Linked DNA regions of Homo sapiens: all the other regions are linked to region 3. Evidence: promoter capture Hi-C in human tissues and cell types (Jung and others, 2019). All regions are on one chromosome and are shown on one strand. The core of a region is centred on a gene start or on the middle of the fragment in contact, and the rest is flanking DNA. Distances in the headings are between cores, read along the strand shown.

What was found. The method cuts DNA at HindIII sites, captures the fragments that hold promoters and counts their contacts. A contact is called where the count stands out against the background at its distance.
Region 1: a fragment that was not itself captured here is called in contact with the fragment with the promoter of SMARCD2 in region 3 in 1 of the 25 tissues and cell types used here (dorsolateral prefrontal cortex).
Region 2: a fragment that was not itself captured here is called in contact with the fragment with the promoter of SMARCD2 in region 3 in 1 of the 25 tissues and cell types used here (pancreas).
Region 4: a fragment that was not itself captured here is called in contact with the fragment with the promoter of SMARCD2 in region 3 in 1 of the 25 tissues and cell types used here (aorta).

What each region holds. Positions count from the first base shown.
Region 1 is chr17:64,202,214-64,208,064 of GRCh38, forward strand. All of the region lies in intron 2 of TEX2 (testis expressed 2), which reads right to left. Among named protein-coding and RNA genes, the nearest start is that of TEX2, 58 kb to the right of the region's middle. The HindIII fragment of the contact is 3,761 bases long and covers 2,201-5,851 here.
Region 2 is chr17:63,386,712-63,392,926 of GRCh38, forward strand. TANC2 (tetratricopeptide repeat, ankyrin repeat and coiled-coil containing 2) reads left to right here. Exons shown (of 28, transcript NM_001394998.1): 16 at 1,924-2,046; 17 at 2,597-2,833. LOC105371856 (a long non-coding RNA gene) reads right to left here. Exons shown (of 4, transcript NR_188626.1): 3 at 1,278-1,377. Among named protein-coding and RNA genes, the nearest start is that of CYB561, 56 kb to the right of the region's middle. The HindIII fragment of the contact is 5,988 bases long and covers 1,663-6,215 here.
Region 3 is chr17:63,839,060-63,844,878 of GRCh38, forward strand. SMARCD2 (SWI/SNF related BAF chromatin remodeling complex subunit D2) reads right to left here and starts at 3,626. Exons shown (of 13, transcript NM_001098426.2): 1 at 3,400-3,626. The coding sequence starts at 3,615. RefSeq lists enhancers at 230-524, 2,549-2,628, silencers at 230-524, 3,349-3,578, 3,949-4,118 and a cis regulatory region at 5,228-5,617. The HindIII fragment of the contact is 13,907 bases long and covers 1-5,819 here.
Region 4 is chr17:64,226,565-64,233,154 of GRCh38, forward strand. All of the region lies in intron 1 of TEX2 (testis expressed 2), which reads right to left. Among named protein-coding and RNA genes, the nearest start is that of TEX2, 33 kb to the right of the region's middle. The HindIII fragment of the contact is 5,262 bases long and covers 1,645-6,590 here.

The DNA.
Region 1 (5,851 bases), core at 2,831-5,330, 360 kb after region 3:
GTTTCCTGCCCCCTATCTAAGGCTCTTTCCAGAACACTACAGGCTTTGACAGGAAATCTTGAGAGGATCACAGGAGTTGCTACTTGACCCCACTGTCAGGAACCAGGTTGCAGACTGGCCTTAGGGAGGCTCAGGACAAGAGGCTGAGGCACAACTTTCCTCCAAGCCTCCCTAATTCTGCCCCTTCACACTCCTACTGACCTGAAACCAGGTTGCTCTTGCAGAAAGCAATTTCCCGGTGCAAACCTAATCACCTTTTGATACCATTAATCAGCCATTTCCCCCCACCCAGGATCTGACCAAGTCCCTGGATTAAGCTGCAAATGAAATTTCCAGATTTCAGCAATTGTCGAATCTTGAGAGAAGCAGCAACTCCAAGGTCTTCATCCTGTTCTCCATATAGTGCCCAACTATCCACTGCTCAGCTGTTCTAAAATTCTTAAGCCTGAATTTCTTACCAGGTAAAGTATTCATCCAACCTTGTTATGAGACATGGGAATGGGTATAGAGAGATATGGCATATAGATAGCAACATTCCATTTCAACAGCTCAACCGAAAACTCTGAGATGCTCTCAACCCACACTAAAGTGACTCAGACAAGCTTTGTTTCTTTCTGAAGCTAGAGCTGTTAAAATGGACACAGTGCACCCCGCTGGGGACAATGACCCAGTCAGCCAGGCTGCAGCTGTCTGGCCCACAGACTGGTCCTGTGATGGCATTTGTAAAAGGTCAGGGGTTTCTCTCAATTCTCTGCTGGATTTAGAAGCCACGTATGGCTGAAAGTACAAAACCACAATCTATAAAGGGGCCATTTAATATTTTAAAAGATTAAAAGCTACAATTAACCTTTTGCAAAATAATAAAGTCTGGAAGAACTACTACCGTGCTTTCAGTTACAGTGCCAATCAGAAGTTCAAGGCCAATGCTCTATTGCTCAGCTTGATACTGAGCTGACCAGAGAAAAGTGCCAGCCCTATAGCCCGAGGAAGTGATGAGAATTCAGGCACTGTGTGCCTGGCTGACAGCAGTAACAATGCAGCATGTTTTCACCCTGCTGACATGTGGCTGTGCTGGCATTTCAGTCCACCTGTCATTCAGATCCCTGTATCATTGCTTCATCAAGTGTATCAGGGAAGGAGCAAATCCTACACAAGAATAGAGCCAGGGCCTGAGGCCCCTCCTGTTGAAAATCATCTCTGAAGCACATAAAAAGGTAATTACTCTCTGTCTCCAAAACTAAAACATAAGCAGGATTTTGTCTTTACCAAGCCTAAACCTTTTTTGATGTATTAATGGTTTAGGACCAGCATCATCAGTATCAGAAACACAGCACCATAGATCATGGAGTTTGAGAATATGGCAGGGGTGGGACCGTCTAATAAACTTTATAGGTCCTGAGATACAAATTTGATTTTACCCATGAAAGGCAAGCAGACCCACAGACATCCAGAATTCATACTATAAATGATAGCCTTAAGCAGGGAGTCAACATTCAAAATAAATGCTGCTCAAAGACACTATAAAGAACATTAAAAAAAGAAAAGAAAGAAAGCCCATTAGGGGAGGGAAGCGCCGTTAATACCGTCCACATCCTCCAACTGCCTGCTTCAAGGTCACCTTCCCAGCAGTGACACTAGAAGCACTGGAGTCAGGGCTAAAGCCACAGCTTTATCCTGCTCTCCTATCCTCCAGTGCAGAATCTCCCAAACTCAGGTGGCCATAGAACATTTTTGAAATTATAATGCACTGACAGACAGTAATAGAATAGGAGATAACGTGGATTCAAATTAGAAAGGTAAAATGATCTCAGATGAACCACTGAAATGACCAAGGTCTGAGTTACATTAATACATGATAAACATTAAATCATATTAACAAGGGTTAAAATTGTAAGATAAATAGATCAGCAAGCAAATAAATTAGCAGCCTCTGTCACTTTTCAGATCACGCATTCTATCAAACAACTTTTTGGGTATGTACAAATATATACTTTACTTATAATTTATACACATGTCCCAATATATACAGCTTTTATATAAAGTACAGAATAGAAATAAAGAGCAAAAGATGAAATAATTATCCTTTTGATAATTTTTAGTTTTTCCAGTATGACAGCTTTGTACTATCTTCAGCTGACACCTTAAGGCACAATACATACACTCAAGGTGAGGATCACTGTTGATGATCCTGAGTGTAAATCTGTATTTCAGAGTCTTACTGATAATTTCCAAGGTTTTTGGCCAAAAGTCGATATATGGTCATCTGTATGTTAAATATCAGCAAGGCTTATTTACTTTCTCAACTAGAAAGAGCAAAGACTGATACAGACGGAAACTTTACTGTTTTCTTCTTGATTAGTGTCTTCTGCAACCCATTTGAACACCACTGAAAGAAGCAATGGAATGAAAACAGTGAGTCAACAACTATGGCCTGGGCACCCACAAAAAAACACGCTCATGCCCTAGAACCATCTTGCTGGCAAACTCATCTTTGGAGTACAGCAAACCTCTTCTTAACGGCTAATTATTGAACAATAATTACAATAAGAATCTTCGATGTTTTTGCTACTTTTCTTACAGAGTTCAGAAGGTATTTTCAGGATGCTAAAAACTGTACTTATATATAGGTAACCAGAATTACAATTCAGCCATGCCATAAGTTAATGAATTGAGTGAAAAACTGGCAAAATGTTGACAATTGTTGAAACTGGGTGTCAGGCACATGGGGGGTTCATTTTACTATTGCCTCTACTTTTGTCTGTATTTAATATTTTCATCAATAAATAGTTTAAAAATGAAAGTTCAAAAAAGTCATTTTGGGACTACCTGACATCCTTAACCATATTGTTCCTATGGAATTCAGGAAGCACGTTCCACACAGCTGCCTCTCCAACTTCAACACAAGGGGTACCTTCTGGTAAGTGAGGGCTGCCTGCATCAAAACATCTCACTGATTAGCCGTGCATGGTGATGCGCACATGTAATCCCAGCAACTCTGGAGGCTGAGGCAGGAGAATTGCCTGAACCCGGGAGGCAGAGGTTGCAGTGAGCCAAGATTGTGCCACTGCACTCTAGCCTGAGCGACAGAGCGAGGCAAAACAAACAAACATACAAACAAACAAACATCTCACCTGAAAACTATTCTACAAGGGGCACTGGGAAATAGCCATGTTTATAAAAACCATACATAAAAACTCAGGTAACCCATTATAGGGGCAGGATATTTTCAGTAAAGTATAATGTAGAAAGAAATGCACTCACATTTCTTGTCCTTACTCTAAGTTATAAGAGACCAACAAAAAGCAATCCAAGTCTCTTTGGGCTGCATGTAATGGCCATTTTCTCCTAAAGACTTGCTTACTCTAATTTCTTGAAAGAATTTCAACAAATTGAGATTAAATTTACAAATTGGAATTTCTCCTCAAAATTGATCATGTCCTCCCCCCAAAATTATTCTTTTATATATCAAAACCAAAGCCTATATTCAGGGAACCTATTTTTAAAACCTATCCCTCTTATTAAATATCTACATGTGACACAATCTAAAGAAAAAAAAGTTCTCCAAAATCCATTTCTATTAGTTTCTGCAATGGCCTAAATATAATTTTAGTCAAACTTGCAGGCCATATCTTTAAAAAAGAGATGGATTATCACTCTGGAAACCAATATGCTACTGCTGTGTTCTGCTGGTGGTTTATAAATCTGAGATAAAGAATTTGCTCGTGAATATAATTCAAAATTGCATCTGAGTCATATACTCAAACATAAATCCAAGACCCTTATGAAATCTTCAGGAAGCTTTTCATTATAAACATGTAGAAAGTTAGTGTGCAACAGGAATGGCTCTGAATTAAAAATAATCCTGGGCAAGGGACCATCTGATTTGGCTAAGCAAACATGCCAAGTGCAGTTTGCTGACTCTAAATGCCCCATTTTCCCCGTGCCCAAACCCACCCTTTCCCAAGGTCCCCAGCTTAGGGCATCTAGACAGTCACCCAACATAAGAACTCCTGAAGGCTACCACACAGGGGGTGTCACTACAGGGATGCCATTGGTCTGTGGCACACACGAGGCTCTTTGCCTTGAGCTAACCTGCCCAGCCCACCATGCTCTAAGTCCTATGAGCTTCTTCTCACATTTTGGTATTGGCCTTTGTGCCAATACCATGTGCATTCACATGCCACTTCCTGTTGAATGCCTGTAGCAACCTTTCTCCTATTTGCTGCTTCTCATCAGCTATGAACTCCAACATACTAAGAACAAGCAAGCTTTGGAGGAGGTCCTAAGAATTCTTCTGTGGACTTTGTGACAGCTCTTTGGCCACATAGAGGTCTTACTTTTTTTTTTTTTTTTTTTTTTTTTTTGAGACGGAGTTTCGTTCTTGTTGCCCAGGCAATAAGAGTACAGTGGTGCGATCTCAGCTCACTGCAACCTCCACCTCCCAGGTTCAAGCAATTCGCCTGCCTCAGCCTCCCAAGTAGCTAGGATTACAGGCATGCCCCACCACACCCGGCTAATTTTGTATTTTTAGCAGAGAAGGGGGTTCCACCATGTTGGCCAGGCTGGTCTTGAACTCCTGACCTCACATGATCCACCCACCTCAGCCTCCTAAAGTGCTGGGATTACAGGCGTGAGCCATCACACCCGGCCTCTTTTTTACTTATATTCTAGACAGTACAGCTGCTGATCAAATGGGTTCAGAGCGGGAGACGGCGGAGTACCATAGGGCCTAGACAACCACACAACAGTCTTTGAGATTAGCTACTACTTGGCTGCAAATTGGTCTTTTTGGTTTGTCATCCCATAAATGTATCACTGCTGCAGCATCATATATAAATACATATGTCTGCAGTGAGGACCCTGATAAAGTACACAAAAACTTTCCTTTTCTCCATTCTTTCCTCAGCATGTGAAGTTACACAGAAGAAAAACTGCAATGCTCCTTGAACTGTTCATGGAACCAGTAAAGGGGCAAGACTCTTAGTCCAGTCTGGCTGCAAGCAGTTCCTGGACCCATCAGTGAGAACTTATACGGCTCAGAGGTTCAAAACCACATGGTCTCCTAAAACAGTCCCTGAGCACCCAGCTCACTGCCTGACTGGTTCACAGCTCATATATGGAGTCCTCTTAGGGCATAAAGTATGCGGGATCTCGGTCCTGGGCTGGGCCTGTCTTGGAGATCTCGGTCGCAGGCAGGTATTATAGTCTTCCATATTGGTGAGCTTTTTAAAAAGGCTTCCGTACCTTCCCTCAAGAATTGCACCATCTTCTGTAAATACCAACTAAATTGGATCAGATGTACACAAAATAATTCAAACCAGCTCACTTATCCCCTGAAATCAAACATTTTCAATAAGTGGCTCTTTTGGCTTGCCCTAGAAACAAGTTCACAGGCCTGTTTTATAAAGAAACCAAGGTCTATCTCCTACATCACTTTAAAGCCATCAACCTGGAGGCAGAGTGGAAATCTGGAACTCATCACTGCCCACTTCTCCAATCCTCCACTTAGTATTTGCCTTTTTTTTTTCTTTTTTTTTTTTGAGACGGAGTCTCGCTCTGTCACTCAGGCTGGAGGGCAGTGGTGCGATCGCAGCTCACTGCAAGCTCTGCCTCCCGGGTTCACGCCATTCTCCTGCCTCAGCCTCATGACTAGCTGGGACTACAGGCACCCGCCACCACGCCCAGCTAATTTTTTTGTATTTTTAGTAGAGACAGGATTTCACTGTTAGCCAGGATGGTCTCGATCTCCTGACCTCGTGATCCACCCGCCTCAGCCTCCCAAAGTGCTGGGATTACAGGCGTGAGCCACCACACCCGGCCAGTATTTGCCTTTCTACTACTCCCTTTGCAT
Region 2 (6,215 bases), core at 3,407-5,906, 450 kb before region 3:
GTCACCTCTTAGGATTGAGATGGGAGGTTTATTTTTAATACCATATTATTTTATTTGATTTTTATAACAAATTTGTATTATTTTTATAATTTCAAAAACTGAAATGTAGAAGTCTTTTTTCCTTCTGTTTTTTGGTGGTTGTTGTTTTTTGGTTTTTTTGAGACAAAGCCTCACGGTGTTGCCCAGGCTGGAGTGCAGTAGCACGATCACTGCTCACCACAGCCTCAAACTCCCGGGCTCAAGCGATCCTCCCACCTCAGCCTCCCAAGTAGCTGGGACCACAGGCATGCACCAGCATGCCTGGCTAATATTTTAATTTTTTTGTAAAGATGTAGTCTCCCTACATTTCCCTGGTCTCAAGCTCCTGGGCCCAAGCAATCCTCCCACCACCACCTCCCAAAGTGCTGGGATTACAGACATGTACCACTGCACCTGGCTGAAAATAAAATTTTTAATAGGAAAGTTCAATGATTTAATTTTTGGTTGCATCAGAATATCCCCACAGGGAGAAAAAAAAAGGTGCCTGTGTCGGAAAAGCCTTTAAAACGTTCGTGTATCTAGCCTTCCCACAGCATTATTCACCTTTCAGCCTTTCCTCTAGTGTGAGAATTCCCTCTACAGGAAGTTTTTTCCTAACCCACTTTAGAGACCCTGAACTCTCTATGGGAAGACCTTGACCACCATGACTAGAGGTCTTGTTAGATGAATTTATAACTCATAAGTTACTGACACATTCCTCCTTTGTAGATGCCCCTTCCCTAGTATGCCGCATAAACACACCTTCCTGATTTTGGGTATATGTAGGTATTCTAGGCAAGAACATTCTATATTTCAGGGACAAAGAAAGCAGAAGTAGCTTAAGTTTTTAAAAGAAGTACCTCCCTATATCTCTTATTACAACCCAAATTTCATTGTTAATATCTTCCTGCCCTCAGGATTTCCTTCTTTAACTGATTTGATCCAGATATTGACAGAAGAGTAAGATGATTGTCAGAGAGTGTCTAACAATCAGGAGATCTGAAGAACAAATTATTCTAACTTCCTTCTGGGGAAGCCCATGTGAAAAGGACAAATATTAGTACATGTCGTGGGACCTGTGCCAGTGATACTAGGAGAAAATTTGTTGCGGATGGAAATCAAGCCTGTATTGCTGTTTTTTTCCTGAGGATAAGCATATGTAATCATTTTGGGATATATTAGTTAAGGTGAAGAACACTAGCTGCTATTGACAAACCTGCAAAATCTCAATGACTTAACAAAGATTTATTTCTCCTTACATCACAGTACAGTGCAGATGTCTGGGCAGGCTCCTTCCGTGTAGTAGTTCTAAAATCACCTTGGGCCTCAGAATTCTCCATTGGATCTTCTACATCTGGCCTGTAATCAAAAGGAACAATAGAAAGTGTAGAGAAATATGCAGGAAGTTTTGGAGCCAAGCCTGGACATGACATATTATTTATGCCCTAATTTTATTCACCAGAATTCAGTCACATGGCCTACCTAACTGTAAAGGAGCCTGGGAAATAGAGTTTTTCCAAATGTTCAGGAAGAAAATGAAATGGAAATCCGTGATCACATTGCATTATTTCTGCCACAGTGTGTAATTTAGTAACTTGAATTTAAGAGATTTATTGAAGAAGGCTAATAAAAAAGATATGGAAAAATAAATTATATCCAGATAGAAAAGAGAGGTGTTGAGTAGACGTGTTGCTAAGGGCTGCAGAGATGGAGACTGTTTCAGTTAGCTTGTTCCTGCAGGACTGGTCTTTGTCCCCCCACCTAGGCTTTGCTTGGCATGAACATTGTTAGGGTGAGACTCCGCTCTCATTCATTAGTACCAAAAACAAAGAGGCCACTAATTCACCACTGATGCTACTTTTTTTTGCTGGGCTACTAATTTAATTGTCTGTATTTCTTATTCAGGGTTTGAGTAAAAAAGTTGGTGTATCATCCTCCATCCTCCAAGGTCTCTGGATCTCTTATAGCACAGAAGGTCTTTCCATGGCACTGGCGTCTTTACGAAATCTCTACACTCCAAATATAAAGGTAAATTTATAAAGAAATTATAAATATGATAAGGAATTAACTATGAAAAAATAAAACTAGAAGGACATTAAGTAGCTATTTAGTTGATCTTTGACTTGTCTTTCTTATTAGCCTTTTATTGATAATTTAATATATTTTAAATTGTTAAATTTTATTCTATAAATTAGAGACTAGCTCCATTGTCCTCTTAACTTCTATAAGCTGACTCTGACATATGGGATCAGGTCCTGCTGGTTCCAAAGAGTAAATTGATCTCAGGTAGCCTTTGTCTTGGTAGGAGCTTTTCTGACCAAGAGCTCACTTCGTAGAGACTATGTTCAGCACTACAGTATAGGAGGCAATTGCTCTAGTTACTATGCCATTTATGTAAAGGAGATATTTTACATTATCTACCAAAGGAAAAGAAAAAGGAGCAAATGAGATTATAAAATAAAGCAATTACTAAATGCTACTAGACACTGTTGTAGAATGTTAGATGGTTTAATAAAAGATGACTAAAAGGATGTGACTCCTGTTTGTCTAATTATTAGTTCTGTTTGTTTATTTCTAGGTCAGCCGACTGCTGATTTTGGGAGGTGCCAATATTAATTACCGGACAGAGGTTTTAAATAATGCTCCAATTCTATGTGTTCAGTCCCATCTTGGTTACACAGAAATGGTAGCCCTGCTGCTGGAGTTCGGGGCCAACGTGGATGCCTCTTCTGAAAGTGGCCTGACTCCCCTGGGATATGCTGCAGCAGCAGGGTACCTGAGCATTGTGGTGCTGCTGTGCAAGAAACGGGCCAAGGTACTGGCTGCCCAGCTCTGCTGCTTTTCTTCCCTTTTTCTTTATTTTCGATGCATACTCTTTCTTATCTCCAGTGTTACTTCATGAGTCTGGGTAGAGTATATCAAACCATGATGGAGAGGAGATCAGAGAGAGTGCTGGTTCTGCATATGTGCAGGGCCACTGCCATCCATCCTGCAGGAGCACACAGTTCTAAACCCTTTGAGAGGTGCTTGGGAAACTGCATTTATCCGTAACCACAAAAAGTTTCTACATAACAACCCAGAAATGATCTATTGAGCTCAGAAGAAGCCTCTTTTTAACAAAGAGAGGAAGGAGAAGTGAGGAAGCCAGGAGACTGCAGTGGCAGGTCTGGACCAAATGACACCTGCAGGCTCTAAGCCTTTCATGTGTAGAGAAGAAAACTTAGCCATGGAGATGAGAACAGGACCAGACACCTTCATCCTGTCCTTGAAGACCACCACTCTAGAGATAAGGGGAGAAGATGATTCTCCCTATTTATACTCAGACTGACCAAGGGCACCTCGAAGTGCTTCTGTTAGTACTGATCAGTTCTCTGAAAATATTTCCAAAATATGTTTGCTTTATGTATAAAAACTCGATTTCACAATATTGGTGAAAAGAAAAATGCTGGTCTCACAAATGTGGGCCTCTGGGAAAAAAAAGTCTGGCCTCATAGTATTTTGTTTCAGTCCTGAAAACAAACTGAGGACTTTAGTGGTTTCATAGTGAAATACAAGTCATAGTATGACTTCATTCTGCGGTATTCAGTGCTGTTACGAGGGGAGAAAGTGGGACTCCTCCACTCCTTTGGGAACTGAGACGTAGGCCTCTCAATGACATCTCAGAGCCTTAGAAGTTTACTGTAGCACAGTGATTGTGCACCTGTGACATCCCATTCATTTGAATGGACACCTCTAGGAACAATGATAACTGGGCCTCGTTACTATTTTCGTTTTCTTTTTAGAGACAAAGTCTTGTTCTGTTGCCTAGGCCAGAGTGCAGTGGCATGATTGTAGCTCACTGCAGTCTTCAGCCTCCCCAGTAGCCAGGAGTATAGGTATGTGCCACCACACTCAGCTTTATTTTTTTCCTATTTTGTAGAGGCAGGGTCTTGCTATATTGCTCGGAGGTTTGCTAAAACTCGTTGGATCAAGAGATCCTCCCACTGTGGCCTCCCAAAGCGCTAGGATTACAAGCATGAGCCACGGCAGCCAGCCCTTCTTACTATTGCTGTCACTTCATATTCTGATCTTAGCTGGGTCTTTCCTGCTGTTCAGCCCTTACACTGCCAAGCCATCCTTTTCTTCATCTTTCATTGTTTTCCCCAGAGCAGAAATGTAACTCATATGTACTTCTTTCAAGATCCTATCACGCCTCTTCTGCCCTTCATCACTGTGATCGAGCTCATCTCAAGGTGCCTGTATCTCAAAACTCTTATCAGTTCTTACGTACGCTCACCTCTACTTTGCCTTAGAGAAGGAAGTACTTACCTTCCTTTCCAGAGCAATTGTCTCCTCCTCTACACTCTTAACCCACGGTGTTGCTCATTCTCTCACGTTATTTCATTCTTTTTCTAAATTCACACTACCTTTTTTCTCAGTTTCTACAAACCTATGAATGTAGAAACCTACCTAACCTAAAAAAGAAATGTTCCTCTCCCTTGCTAACCAGAAGCAACATCCCATCTCTTCCCTTTCACCTCTGCCAAACCTGTCCTAAGAGTCCTCTATACTGGCTACATTCACCTCTTTATTACTCCTTAACCACTTGCATTCTGGCTTCCATGAATGAGAGAGGAGGCAACTCATTAAAATGATAAGCTTTAGGATCAGACACAACTGGGTTAAATCCTGTGTCCATACTTAATTTATACAAGGGCTTGAACAAGTCACTTAACCTCTCTCAATCGCACTTTTCATCTATAAAAAGGGTGTTAAAAGAGTCAGTGTAAGCATTGAAAGAGATAAAGCCTTTTTTTAAAAGAGGTGTTAAAGTCTCTTTTAATCTTATATAGTGCCTAATAAATAGTATCTGTAAAAAAGAAAATAACCCAACCTCCCTACATTCTACCAAGCTGCTCTTTTAAAAGTCACTAATGACTGCCATTCACCAAATAAAGCAGCTTTGTCTTATTCCTCACATCTCTGAGCCCCTCCATAGTATTAGCAATAATAAACCTTTTTTTTTTTTTTTTTTTAAACAGAGCCTGGCTCTGTTGCCTAGGCTGGAGTGCAGTGGCACCATTCTTGGCTCACTGCAGCCTCTGCCTCCTGGGTTCAAGCAATTCCCCTGCCTCAGCCTCCCAAGTAGCTGGGACTACAGGCGCACACCACCACGCCTGGCTAATTTTTGTATTTTTAGTAGAGATGGGGTTTCACCATGTTGGCCAGGCTGGTCTTGAACTCCTGACCTCAGGTGATCCACCCACCTTGGCCTCCCAAAGTGCTGGGATTACAGGCGTGAGCCACCGTGCTCGGCCAGTAGTAAACTTTTAATGTCATTTCCCACTTCTCTGGCTGCCCCTCTCTTCTTCTTCTGATAGAACTGTTCACTGAGATCCTCTGGTCTTCCTTCCGTCCTCATACTCGCCATGGCTTCAGCATTAAAGTCATAGGCTTTGGCGTCAAACCCGACTGGGTTCTAGTTCTCCTACCTACATTTTGGTGACTCTTAACCCCAAATTGCTAATTTCTGAAAGTGTTTTTGAGCTGTAGTTTCACATTTGTAACTGCTTCCTTGGCAGGCATGTTCATATCCCTGACTAGTTAGTTCCTCAGATCCAGCTTTCTAAAATCACTCAGCATCTTTACCCTCCTCTTTCTGGATTTTCAAAGTCTGCTAATGTAGCCTCCGTTTTTCTCAGAACTAGGGAGTCATTGACATCTTTCCCTCCTTTGCCCTTCCTAATTCATTTAGTGGCCAGCACTTTTCAATGTTATCCTCAAAAGAGCTTGAGAAGCTACTCCTTGGTCTCTACCCCAACTGCCACTATCCCCCTGAATTATTCTTGGAGTCTTCTTGTGTAACAAACCCGTTTTTCAGATTCTCATCTCATCTATTACACACCATCCCCTTAGCTTTTGTAGAGCTTTTATTTTGAAGTAATTTTAGACTTTCAAAGATACTGCAAAAATAGTGCAGAGACCCAACACAAAGAAATGATACACGTTTGAGGTGATGGGTATGCTAATTACCCTAATTTGATCATTACACATTGCATACATGTATCAAAATATCACACTGTACCCCATAAATATGTACAATTATTGTGTCAATTTAAAATAATAAAAGTAAATAAAATAATTCTCTTGTAGGCAAAAAAAAATGCATAGAGTTTCTATATATCCTCCATTCAGCTTCTCCTAATGTTAACAGCCTA
Region 3 (5,819 bases), core at 2,376-4,875:
CCAAAGTCTCTCTGCATCAGGAAGAGATTAATCAGAGCTGTTGAAAGGCAAAAGACAGCCTCTTTCTCTGCCTTAAAGATTGTTCTTTCTCTGGCCTGAGATTATAGAAAAAAACTAAGTGTGGCTACAGCTGTAAGCCCAGGCCCAGACATCCCAGACTAGTTTTTCCTAGTGCCTGAGACAAAGACAGGGAAGAACTGAAGCAGTGGGTCCTGCAGAGGTGAGCGAGGGCCCTGTGGTCCCCAGGAAGCTCCCTGCTGCAGTGTTCACAAAACCTGCAGCACCACCCATCCCTCCTGGGCAGGTGCTCCGGTAACAGGAAGTCCCAAGACAAGGCCTCATAGGCAGGGTCTGGAATAGGCTCCACCCAGACATCTGCTCCAGGTTTCCTGGGCCCAGAGCCCCTGGCTCACTCAGGGCCCCAGGGGAAGGCTGCTTATAGTTCAAGTCCCAGCTGAGCCTTGCCAAGCTCCATAGGGCTTATAGGCGCTAGCAACTCCTCCCACTTCAAAAAACAAAACAAAACAAAACAAACAAAAAAAAACAACTCAGGAGTTAAAGAAAAAAAAAAAAGCAGTCCAGCACTCTGAGCCTCCCTAACTCCCTGCCTGCAGCAGGACCAGGTAGGCCTGGATCAATCCCCTGAACCCCAGATGAGGAATCCAGGGCTCCGGTGAGCGTGCTTTGCCCTGCCCCAAATGTGGCCCTGATGCTCCTGGAACCTGGGCCTGAGGGCCTCAGTTGGGGAACATACCACCCACTCTCCCATGAGTAAAAAGGATTTTGAGGCCGGGTGCAGTGGCTCACGCCTATAATCCCAGCACTTTGGGAGGCCGAGGCGGGTGGATCACAAGGTCAGGAGTTCGAGACCATCCTGGCCAAGATGGTGAAACCTCGTCTCTACTAAAAATACAAAAAAATTAGCCGGGCGTGGTGGTGGGCGCCTGTAATCCCAGCTACTCAGGAGGCTTGAGGCAGAGGATTGTTTGAACCTGGGAGGCGGAGGTTGCAGTGAGCTGAGATCATGTCACTGCACTCCAGCCTGGGCGACAGAGTGAGACTCCGTATCAGAAAAAAAAAAATTTTTTTTTTGAACTTTTTGAACTCTCTGGAGTGAACCCAGCAATCTGAGGTTTTTGTTATTTTGTTGCCCAGGCTGGAGTGCAGTGGCAGGATCATAGCTCAATGCAGCCTTGAACTCCTGGACTCAAGCAATCCTCCTGCCACAGCATCCTGAGTAGCTGGGACCATAAGCGCACACCACCATGCTTGGCTAAATTTTTTTTTTTTTTTTTAAGAGATGATGGTCTCACTATGTTGCTTAGGCTGGTCTTGAACTCCTGGTCTCAAGTAATCCTTCTGTCTGGGCCTCCCAAAGTGCTAGGATTACAGGTGTGAGCCCACCATATCCTGCCCTGGAGGTTTTTTTCTTTTCTTTTTCTTTTTTTAGGTTCCTCTGTTAACTGTGATCCACAGCTAGAACCACCCTCTGGAGGAAGGGAGGTCATCACTTCCCTTCTTTCAACTATTTGCTCAGCTTGGGCCTCAAATTCTCACTTTTCAAGTGCATCTCATGAGCCCTAACAGACAGGAACCCCTTTGTTTCCCAGATCTCAAGTCCCTTCTCCTGGCAGTCATACAACTGGACTTGGAAAGAAGGCAAATAGGATCCTCTTCAAACTCAGCCAAAGTTAGCTGGCTGGGTTCTCCTTCCCATCTACCTCTCCTGCCAGGAGGAGGAAAGCTAGTGGGATGGGAAACCCAGACTCAGGGCCATCTCCTACTTCCGCACAGCTAGCAGCCCAGGCCTAACCAGCCAGCCAGCTTGGCCTTGCCACAGGCCCAAGGCCACCCCCCACCAAAACATGTGGAATCCATCCTCTCAGGGGCTGTCCCAAGGGCACATTTCCTATGGCTTGCATGCCAAGGAAACTGGAGCGGCTTGTCTGTTCCAGGTCCTTCCAAGGCCAAAGGCCCACAGATGGTGCCCAGGCCAGGTCTCAGTGGGCAGGCCCAAGGGCTACAATGAATGATGCAGGGAGCCCTCAGCAACACCCTGGGCCCATGAATCCCCAACGGGGACAGCAAGGTGGGAGAGATGAGCCCCAGCTGGAATCCCTGGGACCAGGTCTGTCTCTGCCCATACCCAGACTCTCTTTTCTCTTGAGAAAGGAGGAAGAATGAGGAGTAAGAAGGAAAAAAAAATCCAGTCACTGTCCCTAGTTAAGCCATCTCCTTAGAAGTGAGGGCCCAGTGGGGCAGGTAGGCTGTGTATACTCCACGAGGATCCCTAAGGACCTCTGCCTGGAGACATGAGTCGAAAACAGAGGAAGCCCACAGCAAACCCGTAGATGAGCAAGAAGCCAGTGTCAAATGCTTGGGCACATGGCTTCGGACGTGGTGGAGTTAGAACCTGAAGGCCAAATAAAAATGCAGAGAGGGTGACAAGGCAGATGGGCACAGTTTCCAAGCCCTCTGGGGCAACCTGAACAGCAGACTAGAGCACTGGCAGGGTCAGGCTGAGGTCCTCACACACTGAGCAGAAGTCGCTGCTTTGCAAGGGCTTTTGAAGCTGCAATCTGAGCAGCTCTCAAAACCCCAAAGGGGTCAGGACAGCACTCTTTGAAGCAACTCTCGCAGACTCCTCCGGCCCCAGACCAGCAGGGCTCCACTCTGCACGTCCAGACTAATCAACTCCCGGACACGATGACAGGAGGCAGAAAGCCCAGAAGAGAGCCGGCCTGTGACTGGGCTGGGCCTCCCCTCAGGCCAGGCCACCACCGTCTCTGGTCTAAGCTGGAGTCCTCCCAGCGAAGGCGCCTGGCCCTGCCTCAGGAGTAAAGTCCGCCCGTGCACAAGCTGGAATCCCCTGGCCCTAGCCTCAGCGTCCCGTGCCCGTGGGAAGCCAGGCTCCTTCCTCCTTATTAGCAGCCGGGAGCCATCTCAGACACGCTAGAGCTCCGCCAGTTCCCAATCAGAAAAAACAGGGCAGACTTGGACTGGGACCAAGGCCGATGCAGGGTAACCCCGGTTTCTCAGCGAGGGCCCTTTCCCAAACTTTCTCATCACTTTCCAGCCCTCCTACCCTAGACTTCTCAACCCACCCGCCACAATTCACTGGCTCCCCAAACTCCTCCATCTCCCAGTCACTCGGAATCCCTGTGCCGCGGAAGCCCCCAGGCCTCCCAGCTGCTTCCAGCCCTCCGCTGCAGAACCTGCTTCCCCTTCCCACTTCTCCACCGCGACCCGCCGCAGCCCGAGGGTCCCGGCCCGCCCTCCACCGTCTCCCGGAGTTCCTCATGCATTCCCCAGGGCCCTCACTCGAGGCCCCTTCAGCCGCCGGCCCGGGCGCCCTCGCAGCGCCTCTCGCCCCCGTCCGCTCGCGTCCTCCTTGCTCACCTGGTACTGCGCCGCGGGGCCCGCGGGGCCCATGGGGCGGAAGGCGGCGGCCCCGGGGCCCCCCACGCCTCCTGCCGGACCCGGTCCCCGGAGCGCCGGTCCGGGCAGCATGCCGGGTCCCGCGGGGGGAGGCGGCGCTCCCAGGGCCGCAGCCACGGCGCCGCCGCCAGGGCTTAGCGGGGGCAGCGGGAACCCGCCCGCGCCTCGGCCCGACATCGCTCCGTCCCGTCCCGCGGTGCCGCGATCCGGACTCCGGGCTCCGCGTCGAGTCCACTCCGTGCTCTGTGCTCCGCGATCCGGGACTTGGCGATCTTAATTCCGGGTTCCGGGATTTGTCGATCCGGGCTCCGGGATTTCCTAATCCAAGTTCGCGAGTTCCTCACAGACCCGGTTCGGGACAGATTCCGCTCCTGCCCGGGAGATTCCGGATCCAGGATCTGCTGCGGGCCCGCCTTCCGTCCCCGGCCTCCGGAGGTTTGGCCGCCCGAGTCGAGTTACCCAGAGGCGGCTACGAACTCCCTGCCCCGCCCAACCCAGCCCAGCACTAGGCCCCGCCTCTACCTGGTGCCCAATGCTCGAGTGCCTCCTCGAATCCTGCCCCTCGCGAGACCCGCCCCCAGCGGGCACCGCCCCTAACTGCCGACCTCAGAGCCCCACCCCCCCACCTTTGGCCCAGCCTTTCGTCGGAGGGGCGGGAGCGGAAGCTGCGCGCGGAAGCGCCGAGTGAGGCGCGGGGTCAGAGGTCTAAGGTCACTTAGGGGCTTCACAGTGAATGAGCCGTTGCTACTACTCTCTCCCGGTATAGCACCCTCACCGAATTCCGCGGCCACACTCCCCGAAAATAGTTTTGTCAAGTCTCCTTTCTGCATCTTCGGCGTTAAAGACTCAACTCAGAGTCGGTAGCTGTGGCTCACGCCTGTAATCCCAGCGCTTTGGGAGGCTGAGGCGGGCGGATCCCCTGAGGTCAGAAGTTCGAGACCAGCCTGGCCAACATGGTGAAAACCCCGTCTCTACTAAAAATACAAAAATTAGCCGAGTGTGGTGACGGGCGCCTGTAATCCAAGCTACTCGGCAGGCTGAGGCAGGAGAATCGCTTGAACCTTGGAGGCAGAGGTTGCAATGAGCCGAGATCGCCCCACTGCACTCCAGCCTGGGCGGCAAGAGTGAAACTCATCAAAAAAAAAAAAAAAAAAAAAAAAGACTCAGCTGCTCTGTGGGGCAGAACAGCAGCCAACTCAACTTCCTGTAAAAGCTCATGCTGGTAGCTCGGAACTGCCAAGGGACCTAGGAGGCTCCAGACTTGACCCAGCTGGTGAACGGTCGACTTGGCCAAGGCTGAGTTCTACCGCACATTTTTAACGTGGCTCCGCCTCACTTTAAGGAAGCCTGGTACTTTACTCCCCAGAAAATGCTTCTAGTCAAAAGAAATTTGGCTTATGAGAAACCTCCCCGCAGTTTAAAAAAAGAGGTCTTTCTCCAGTATTTATAGCACTTAATTTTCAAAAATGCAGTATCTTTTCAGGTACACTGTGCTGTATCAAAGTATTCAAAAATGCGTCAGCTGTGCCAGGGAGCCTACCCTCTGATGGTCTGGATCTCCTCGCCGTGATATGGACCAGTGCTGCTTAAACTTTAATGAGCACATAAAAAACACTCGAGGCTCTTATTAAAAATGCAGATTGTGGCAGGGCCCAGGACTCTGCATTTGTAACAAGCTGCCAGCGATGCTGTTGCTTCTCAGACCACACTGTCAAGAAGCCGGGATCTAGACTTTTTTTTTTTTTTAGTTTTTTTACTATAATTGCTTTATTTTTCCAGCCCCAACCAAGTAATACTTCCTTCCTTGCATCATAGCACCCCAGATCTTTTTTACAGTATAGTTCTCCAGTGCTTTTTAGAAATTAGTTCTCCTCATGCCTCTAGTGATAAACACCGCTGCTGCTGTTTTCTTACCTCCTGAACTTAGAGATCCCACTCTATTGCCCCAAGAGTCGATAACCTGTCAGTCTGGGGACTGGCCACTGGAATTGTTAAAGTCACTGAATCATGGCCCCTCCCATCCCTGTAAAGTGGGTTAAGAGTTCATGATAAGGCAGCTAATATCCATTTCAATCCTTTTAAGCTTCTAGAACAACAGTAATTCTCAAAGTGATAGGGGCAGTGGAGAATCAGAGTCCTCTGGGAAGCTACTCCAAAATACCTCCGCCAGCCACCCCTCCAATCCAATGGCTCTCAGTATTGTATTTGAAAAATAAGCTTCCTAGGTAATTCTGATGCGACCCAGTGGGTCGCATCAGAAAACACAAGATTTTTTCTACCCTAGAAAAGGGGCAAGCTAATAAGTGCATTTAAAAGCAGATCAGCTGGGTGGAGTGGCTCACACCTGTAATCCCAGCACTTTGGGAGGCCAAGGTGAGTGG
Region 4 (6,590 bases), core at 3,026-5,525, 390 kb after region 3:
GCATCTTCAATAGGTATCTCCCAAGTACATGAACAGGCACTTCACCCAAAAGTTCAAATGGCCAAGAAACAAATAAAAAACTCAACCTTACTAAAAATAATACAGAATTGGAAACAAACCGATGAAATAATTTCTCTCAATGATTAAAACATGTATGATGCTGGCAAGGGCACAATGAGACAAACCCTCTCTTGCACTAAGGCTGGAACATAATTAGCAAAAACTTTGCTGAAAACTGGTATTAGAAACTAGAAAATTAGTAAAAACTTTTCTGTAGTATAAAAGTAGTATAAAAAATAATAAAATATTTATAAAAAATAATGGGTGCATCCACAGGGAAAACTCAAGGAGACAACACATAGACATCAGAAAATGACATCAGGCTGGGCACGGGGGCTCACGCCTGTAATCCCAGCTCTTTGGGAGGTCGAGGCAGGCAGATCACAAGGTCAAGAGATCGAGACCATCTGGGCCAACATGGTGAAACCCCGCCTCTACTGAAAATACAAAAATTAGCTGGGCGTGGCGGTGCGCGCCTGTAGTCCCAGCTACTCGGGAGGGTGAGGCAGGAGAATTACTTGAACCCTGGAGGCGGAGGTTACAGTGAGCTGAGATCCTGCCACTGCACTCCAGCCTGGTGACAGAGTGAGACTCCGTATCAAAAAAAAAAAAAAAGAAAATGACATCAATATGGGGGCAAAAAATCCCTAGAATAAGTAATGAAAACTCAGGACAGGTATGTCCTAAACAGATGGTACTCATCAAGTAAGTACTCATCAAGCTGACACCAATGTACAAATGTCTGCACTGGGCAAAAAAAAGGAGAGGGTAGCATTAATTCTCATTTTCTCCATATAACAGGTTTAACAGTAATTGTTATTTGCTAATTTCAGGTATTTCCAAATACTTTTGTGATCTGGAAAAAAAATTATATGTAAACACATGTCAATCTTTTAAAAATTATTATAATCATTATCTTCAGAATATAAAATTGCCCTAGCCAATCCTCCGTGCCTTACCCACAAGAAAACTAAGGCAGAAAGACTCATTTTTATTAAATGAGGACACACTGTATGTATGTATGTAATCTGCTTTTATACTCAAGATTACACACTGAAGTAATCTATCATTAGCAAGGCCTTTAGTTTGAGTTCCACCAACTTGGTAGCAGTCTGGCCCTCTGGCAAATCATTTACCCTAACCAAGCCTAAGCTTCTTTTCATCTGTAAAATGGGAATGGCAACTGACTGTTCAGAAGATTAAACGAAACAACTTAAGCAAAGCACTGAGCATGATCCCTGGCACAGAGCAGCCCTCCCTAATTGTTTACTGTTCTTATAAGCATTTTCTCAAATCAAAGATTATTTCATGCATGATTTTTAATCGCTGTATAGGATGAATATTCCATAATGTAATTCAAGAATACCACTTGAATTTCTTATTACAAACAAGACTGCAATGCTGCACATGATGCTATAGATAAACCTTTGACTAGCTATAGATAAACCTTTGACTGCCCTCTGGTTATTTCCTTAGGAAATATTTCTAGAAGTGAAATGAGAGAGTTGAACCATATGTATACATCTTCACTTCAATAAAAAATATATAATTTCAAACTCATTGAAAAAAACTTCAAAAACAGATGTAGAGGAAAAGTGAAATTTTCTCCTCCTCCCTGCAAAATCAGCTTCATGGAAGACAATTTTTCCACGGACCAGAGGCAGCGGGGTATGGTTTCGGGATGATTCAAGTATACTGCATTTATTGTGCATTTCATTTCTATTGTTATTACATTGTATATAATGACACAATTCTACAACTCACAATAATGTAGAATCAGTGGAAGCCCTGAGCTTGTTTTCCTGCAACTAGACAGTCCTATCTGGGGGTGCTGGGAGACAGTGACAGATCATCAAGCATTAGATTCTCATAAGGAGGAGCAACCTAGATCCCTCGCATGCGCAGTTCACAGTAGGGTTTACACTCCTATGAGAATCTGTGCCGCTACTGATGTGACAGGAGGTGGAGCTCAGGCAGTCATGCGAGGGATGGAAAGGGGCTGTAAATACAGATGAAGCTTTGCTCACTCACCCACAGCTCACCTCCTGGTGTGCAGCCTGGTTCCTAGCAGGCCATGGACCGCTCCTGGTCTGTGGCCCGGGGATTGGGGACCCCTGGTTTAGAACGTATCTTTCCAGACCTTTCATAGGCATTTTGTGTGCATACAAAAGGTAGTGCGCACAAATAAAGTTGTTTTTGTTTTTACTTTTAAATGAGATCATATTATACAAATTGTTTTGCATTTGTTTTTTACTTACTATTTCTTGGACCACCTCCTATGGCCTATACCTATGGACTGACAGGTACACACACACACACACACACACACACACACACACACACACACCTTTTCTACACAGTAAGGTATGCCACTATTAACTTAATCATTTTTTTATTTGATAGAAATTTGCAGGGTTTCCTGTTTTCACCATTAGAAACAACGCTGCCTTTAAAAGCTGTGTTTCCATATAAATCTTGTGCAAAAAGAAAGTCTATCTGTAGGATGTATTTCTAGAGTGGAGTTGCTGGGTCAAATGAGGTACATATTTAAAATTCTGAAACTGTTTGCCAATTTGTCCAATTTACTCTCCTAATTAACATTGTATAAAATGTCCACCTTCAACCCTGGTCAAGACTGAATATTATTTTAAATTTCTGCCCATTCAGTGGGCAGGGAAAAGGTATCTCAATGCTTTGATAGTCACTTCATACTTTTCCCTCATTTGCTTCTCTTCTTCTGTTAACTGGTCGTTCATATTTCTTGCCCAAGGACTTTTGTTATTCACTTCTTTATCAAGGATAGTTAATACTTTGTCTATTGTATGTGTTCCAAATATTTCCTTCCATCTCTGACTTGCCTTTTAATTGTATGGGTTTTTTTTTTAATATACAAAGTTTTACATTTTGAGATGTTGAAGCTCTCTATCTTTTTCTTTATGGCTTCTGGATTTTTTTACAGCTTCCTGATGAAGCCTTCCCATTCCATCAGCATAAAAACATTCGTCTTTGAAATCTTTTTAGAAAACGCTGACAATAGTGTATATAACACACATAACACACATATTGCTCTGTTTCCTATACAAGGATCTAAATTTTAACTTTGGAAAAACTGACTGATATGGACAATCATTTCTCTATTTTCTAGCTATAATAAACTGTAAAGCATTGAATTTATTCCCTTCAAATCATATTAGGAAATTAGACAACCTAGCTTACATCTAGGTTGATCACTGGCCATTCAGCTTCTCAATGTGAGGAACGTATTTCAGATTAATTCTTCAAAAACTGAAAAAACTCTTTAAGAACTCAAAAAAATTAGCCGTTTCCCCCAGTCAGAAACCCTCCTTTTCACACAGGCATCAGCAGACTTAACCTTGATATAGGGCAGTAAATTTGCTAAGTGTAATCTTACATCAGAATGTTATTTATAGGTAAGGCATCTGAGGGCCAAAGAAGATAAATTTTTTTAAACCAGGTTTAAGATGTGTGCATGCATGTGTGCACATGTGTATGTGCATGTATGTGTGCACACATGTGTGTGTAGGGGAAAGAGTGGGACTGAGGGAAATAGGAATTGATGGGAGGAATATGAGAAGGCATGGTGGAAGGTTTCCCAGGGGCCCCGTGTGAGCTGGCCCATGGGGACCTGACAAGGTGCCCCGCCAAGACAAAATGGAGAGTACATTTTAAGTGGAGGACAAAGCAGAAGAAAAGGAATAGAGGCAAGAAACCCAGAGCCATGTTCACAACTGGCAAGGTTAGGAGATACTGGTTCCTGGCACAGGCATGGTCCTGACCTGGCCGGCTGGCCACCTCATGGTTCCCTGAGGAGAACCACTTGCCTATAGGCCCTGAGGGGGAACATTCCCCACCCAACTCTACCTCTGTTGTGGATCATGCCAAGAAAGGATTGCCCACTGATGAGATGATTGGGATTCAGACAATTGTTCAGTTAGTAGTAAATCAGTCATTGAAAACACAGACCGAGTGAGGCCATGAGGCAGCAGAGGGAGGAGCTCCACGGAGGACCACAGCCCTCAAATGGCCCTCAAATGACAGTGACGGAGCTCCCCACTTCACCTCCCTGAGCCTGGGGTTCTGCTGTAAACTGAGGGAAGCTTCCTCCATTGTCTTCAAGGAATTTTCCAGAAGGCTCTAAATTCTAAGAGTCTATGACTCAATTTCCATGGAACAGAACATACTTAGAGTCCTACTTTTCTCTTTTGTAACAAGAGAAATTCTTGGCAACTGTTAAAGTCAAGGAAAGCAAACCAGAGTGCACATCAGCTGACTAATGTGCCTAAGGCAATTAAGTCAAAATATTTTTCAAATAGTACTGAAACAGCTCATCTCCCATTAACAAATACTTCTAGACTTTCCAGACTTGTCTTGCTCAGCCCAGCTGTAGAAACATCCCTTATGTGTGCTGGCCATTAGGTGGAGAGTTTCCAACCTATGAGAATGAGCTGCAGATCAGCCGCACCTGCATGTGCTCAGGCACCAGAGGACAGGCATCAACTTGGCCTCCTCAGCAGCCCCTATCTTTCCCCCACCTACTGCCAAACAGTACAGAAGGTGACTGTGAGGCTGCTCCTGCTCAGGCTGTGATGGGGTTGAACTTCATGGGGCTCTCTATCCCAGTGCTTCATTAGTTCTTACTCTGTACAAACATCACCCAAGCACCACTTCTCAGCCTCACTAAGAATCTTGAGTCTCCCACCAAGTACCATATATGTGCTTCAGGCAACCCTGTGTGGTCACTGTTGTGCCCATTCAAGTCTGAAAAACTCTGAGGCTGACTAAAGGACGGAACCAAAGGAGAGACTGAATGCAGGCTGGCCCTTCACACCACTCTGCTCTAGGAAAACTAACACAGCCTCATGTGGACAGGACCGTCTCTGGGGTTCCTGTTCGCCAGCAACATCCACTCTATCTTGTTTCAGTATTAAGCTTCTGTCACTTTAATGCATATTAATAGATGTGTTTGTCATTATTAAGGTGGAAGGTGGTTAGATTCTGAAGGGAGGTGAGAACTGAATAGGTCCTGGGGTGCAACACAATTGCACAGAAAACCTGGTTAAGAACTCAAACTCTGAAATTAAACAGACCCAGCTTTGGATTCCAGTTCCACCTCTTATCAGTGTGTCACCCTGGACAAGTTACGGCAAAAGGCCTCTTTTTCCTTACATATAATGCAGATAATAGTGCCTATCTCATAGGGGCTGCTGGGAGAATTAAGAAATAACACTTAACATATGTAAGCTACTATAATCAGCATCCACAGCAGGTGTGAGCACATCTTTTTATCCGTGCCGACTCAGCCTGTGGACTCACCGGCATGTTATCCGGGATCAGACAGCTTGTTTCCAGCCTTCTCTAATCACCAGCACTGGACTGTCCTGACTGTCTGACTTTAGGTTTAGTTCAGGCAGCTGTGACCATTAAGAATGACACAATGACAATGTAAAAATATGTACTGTACATATACATCGTAATACAAAATGAAAAGGCAGAATTTAGGATGATGTACATCACCTAGGTAAATGAACACAACAGGATCCTAGGAGGCTTATAGAGACTAAGTATTAATAGTTGGTGTTTCGTGGTGAAAGAGTTATTGGTGTTTGATTTCAGTGAAAAGCTGATGAAAAAGGATCTTTTTTAAATGAGAGCTGTGGATAAGATCTGTAGTTTCATCAACCTCTTTTTTTTCTGTCCCCTCCCCATGTTGGCCACATGTTTTTCAATATTCTTACATTGTTTACCAGTAAACTGATTAATTCTGTGTATTATTCTTCCATTTCAATACTGATCCAAATTTTAATCAACAATCCATATTTATAAGGGGTTCATAATGACATTATAAAAATCAAGTCACTGCCACAGGTGTGATAATAAGCATAGCTGAGCAAGCAAGAAACAATCAGTGGCTTCATTTCCATAGTCAAGGGCACTCACATTCAAGGTCAACCTCATTCTAAAGGTAGTGGGAAGTGAGACCTGGTACCAGCTCCAGTAACAATATCTACAGTTAGACCAATCCTGTGTCAGAAACTCCTATTATGTCATCCACAGCCAATCAGAACGTGGAGTCAGCATGAAACCTTCCATACAGGGTTGCAATTCCAAACAAAAGCAAGGAAACTTGATGGTTTGGGTAGCTTTTGTATGTTCATCCTGGGTAAAAGCATAGTTTCTGTTAAGCCTTTTCAAATGCTGAAAATGGTCCCTGGTTCCCATGGGTTCCTTTGCAGATGGCATGAGCCCAGGTCAGCTCCACCTAACAGACTGCTGGTGAGACAACTGATCATCCCTAATCATTACCTTCTTAATCACAGTTCTAAAAAGGCAGAGGCATTTGGGATTGAGGGAAGGGTTAGTGTACCAGAAAATCCTAGGCAACATCTTCAACACACAAATGACCCAGCTCACCCCTATCCATCTTGAGGCTTATCATGATTGTGGAGTTTCACAACTGATGGATTGGAAGACATTTTTTTAATTCCCCAGTCATCATAAGCCTATATGTG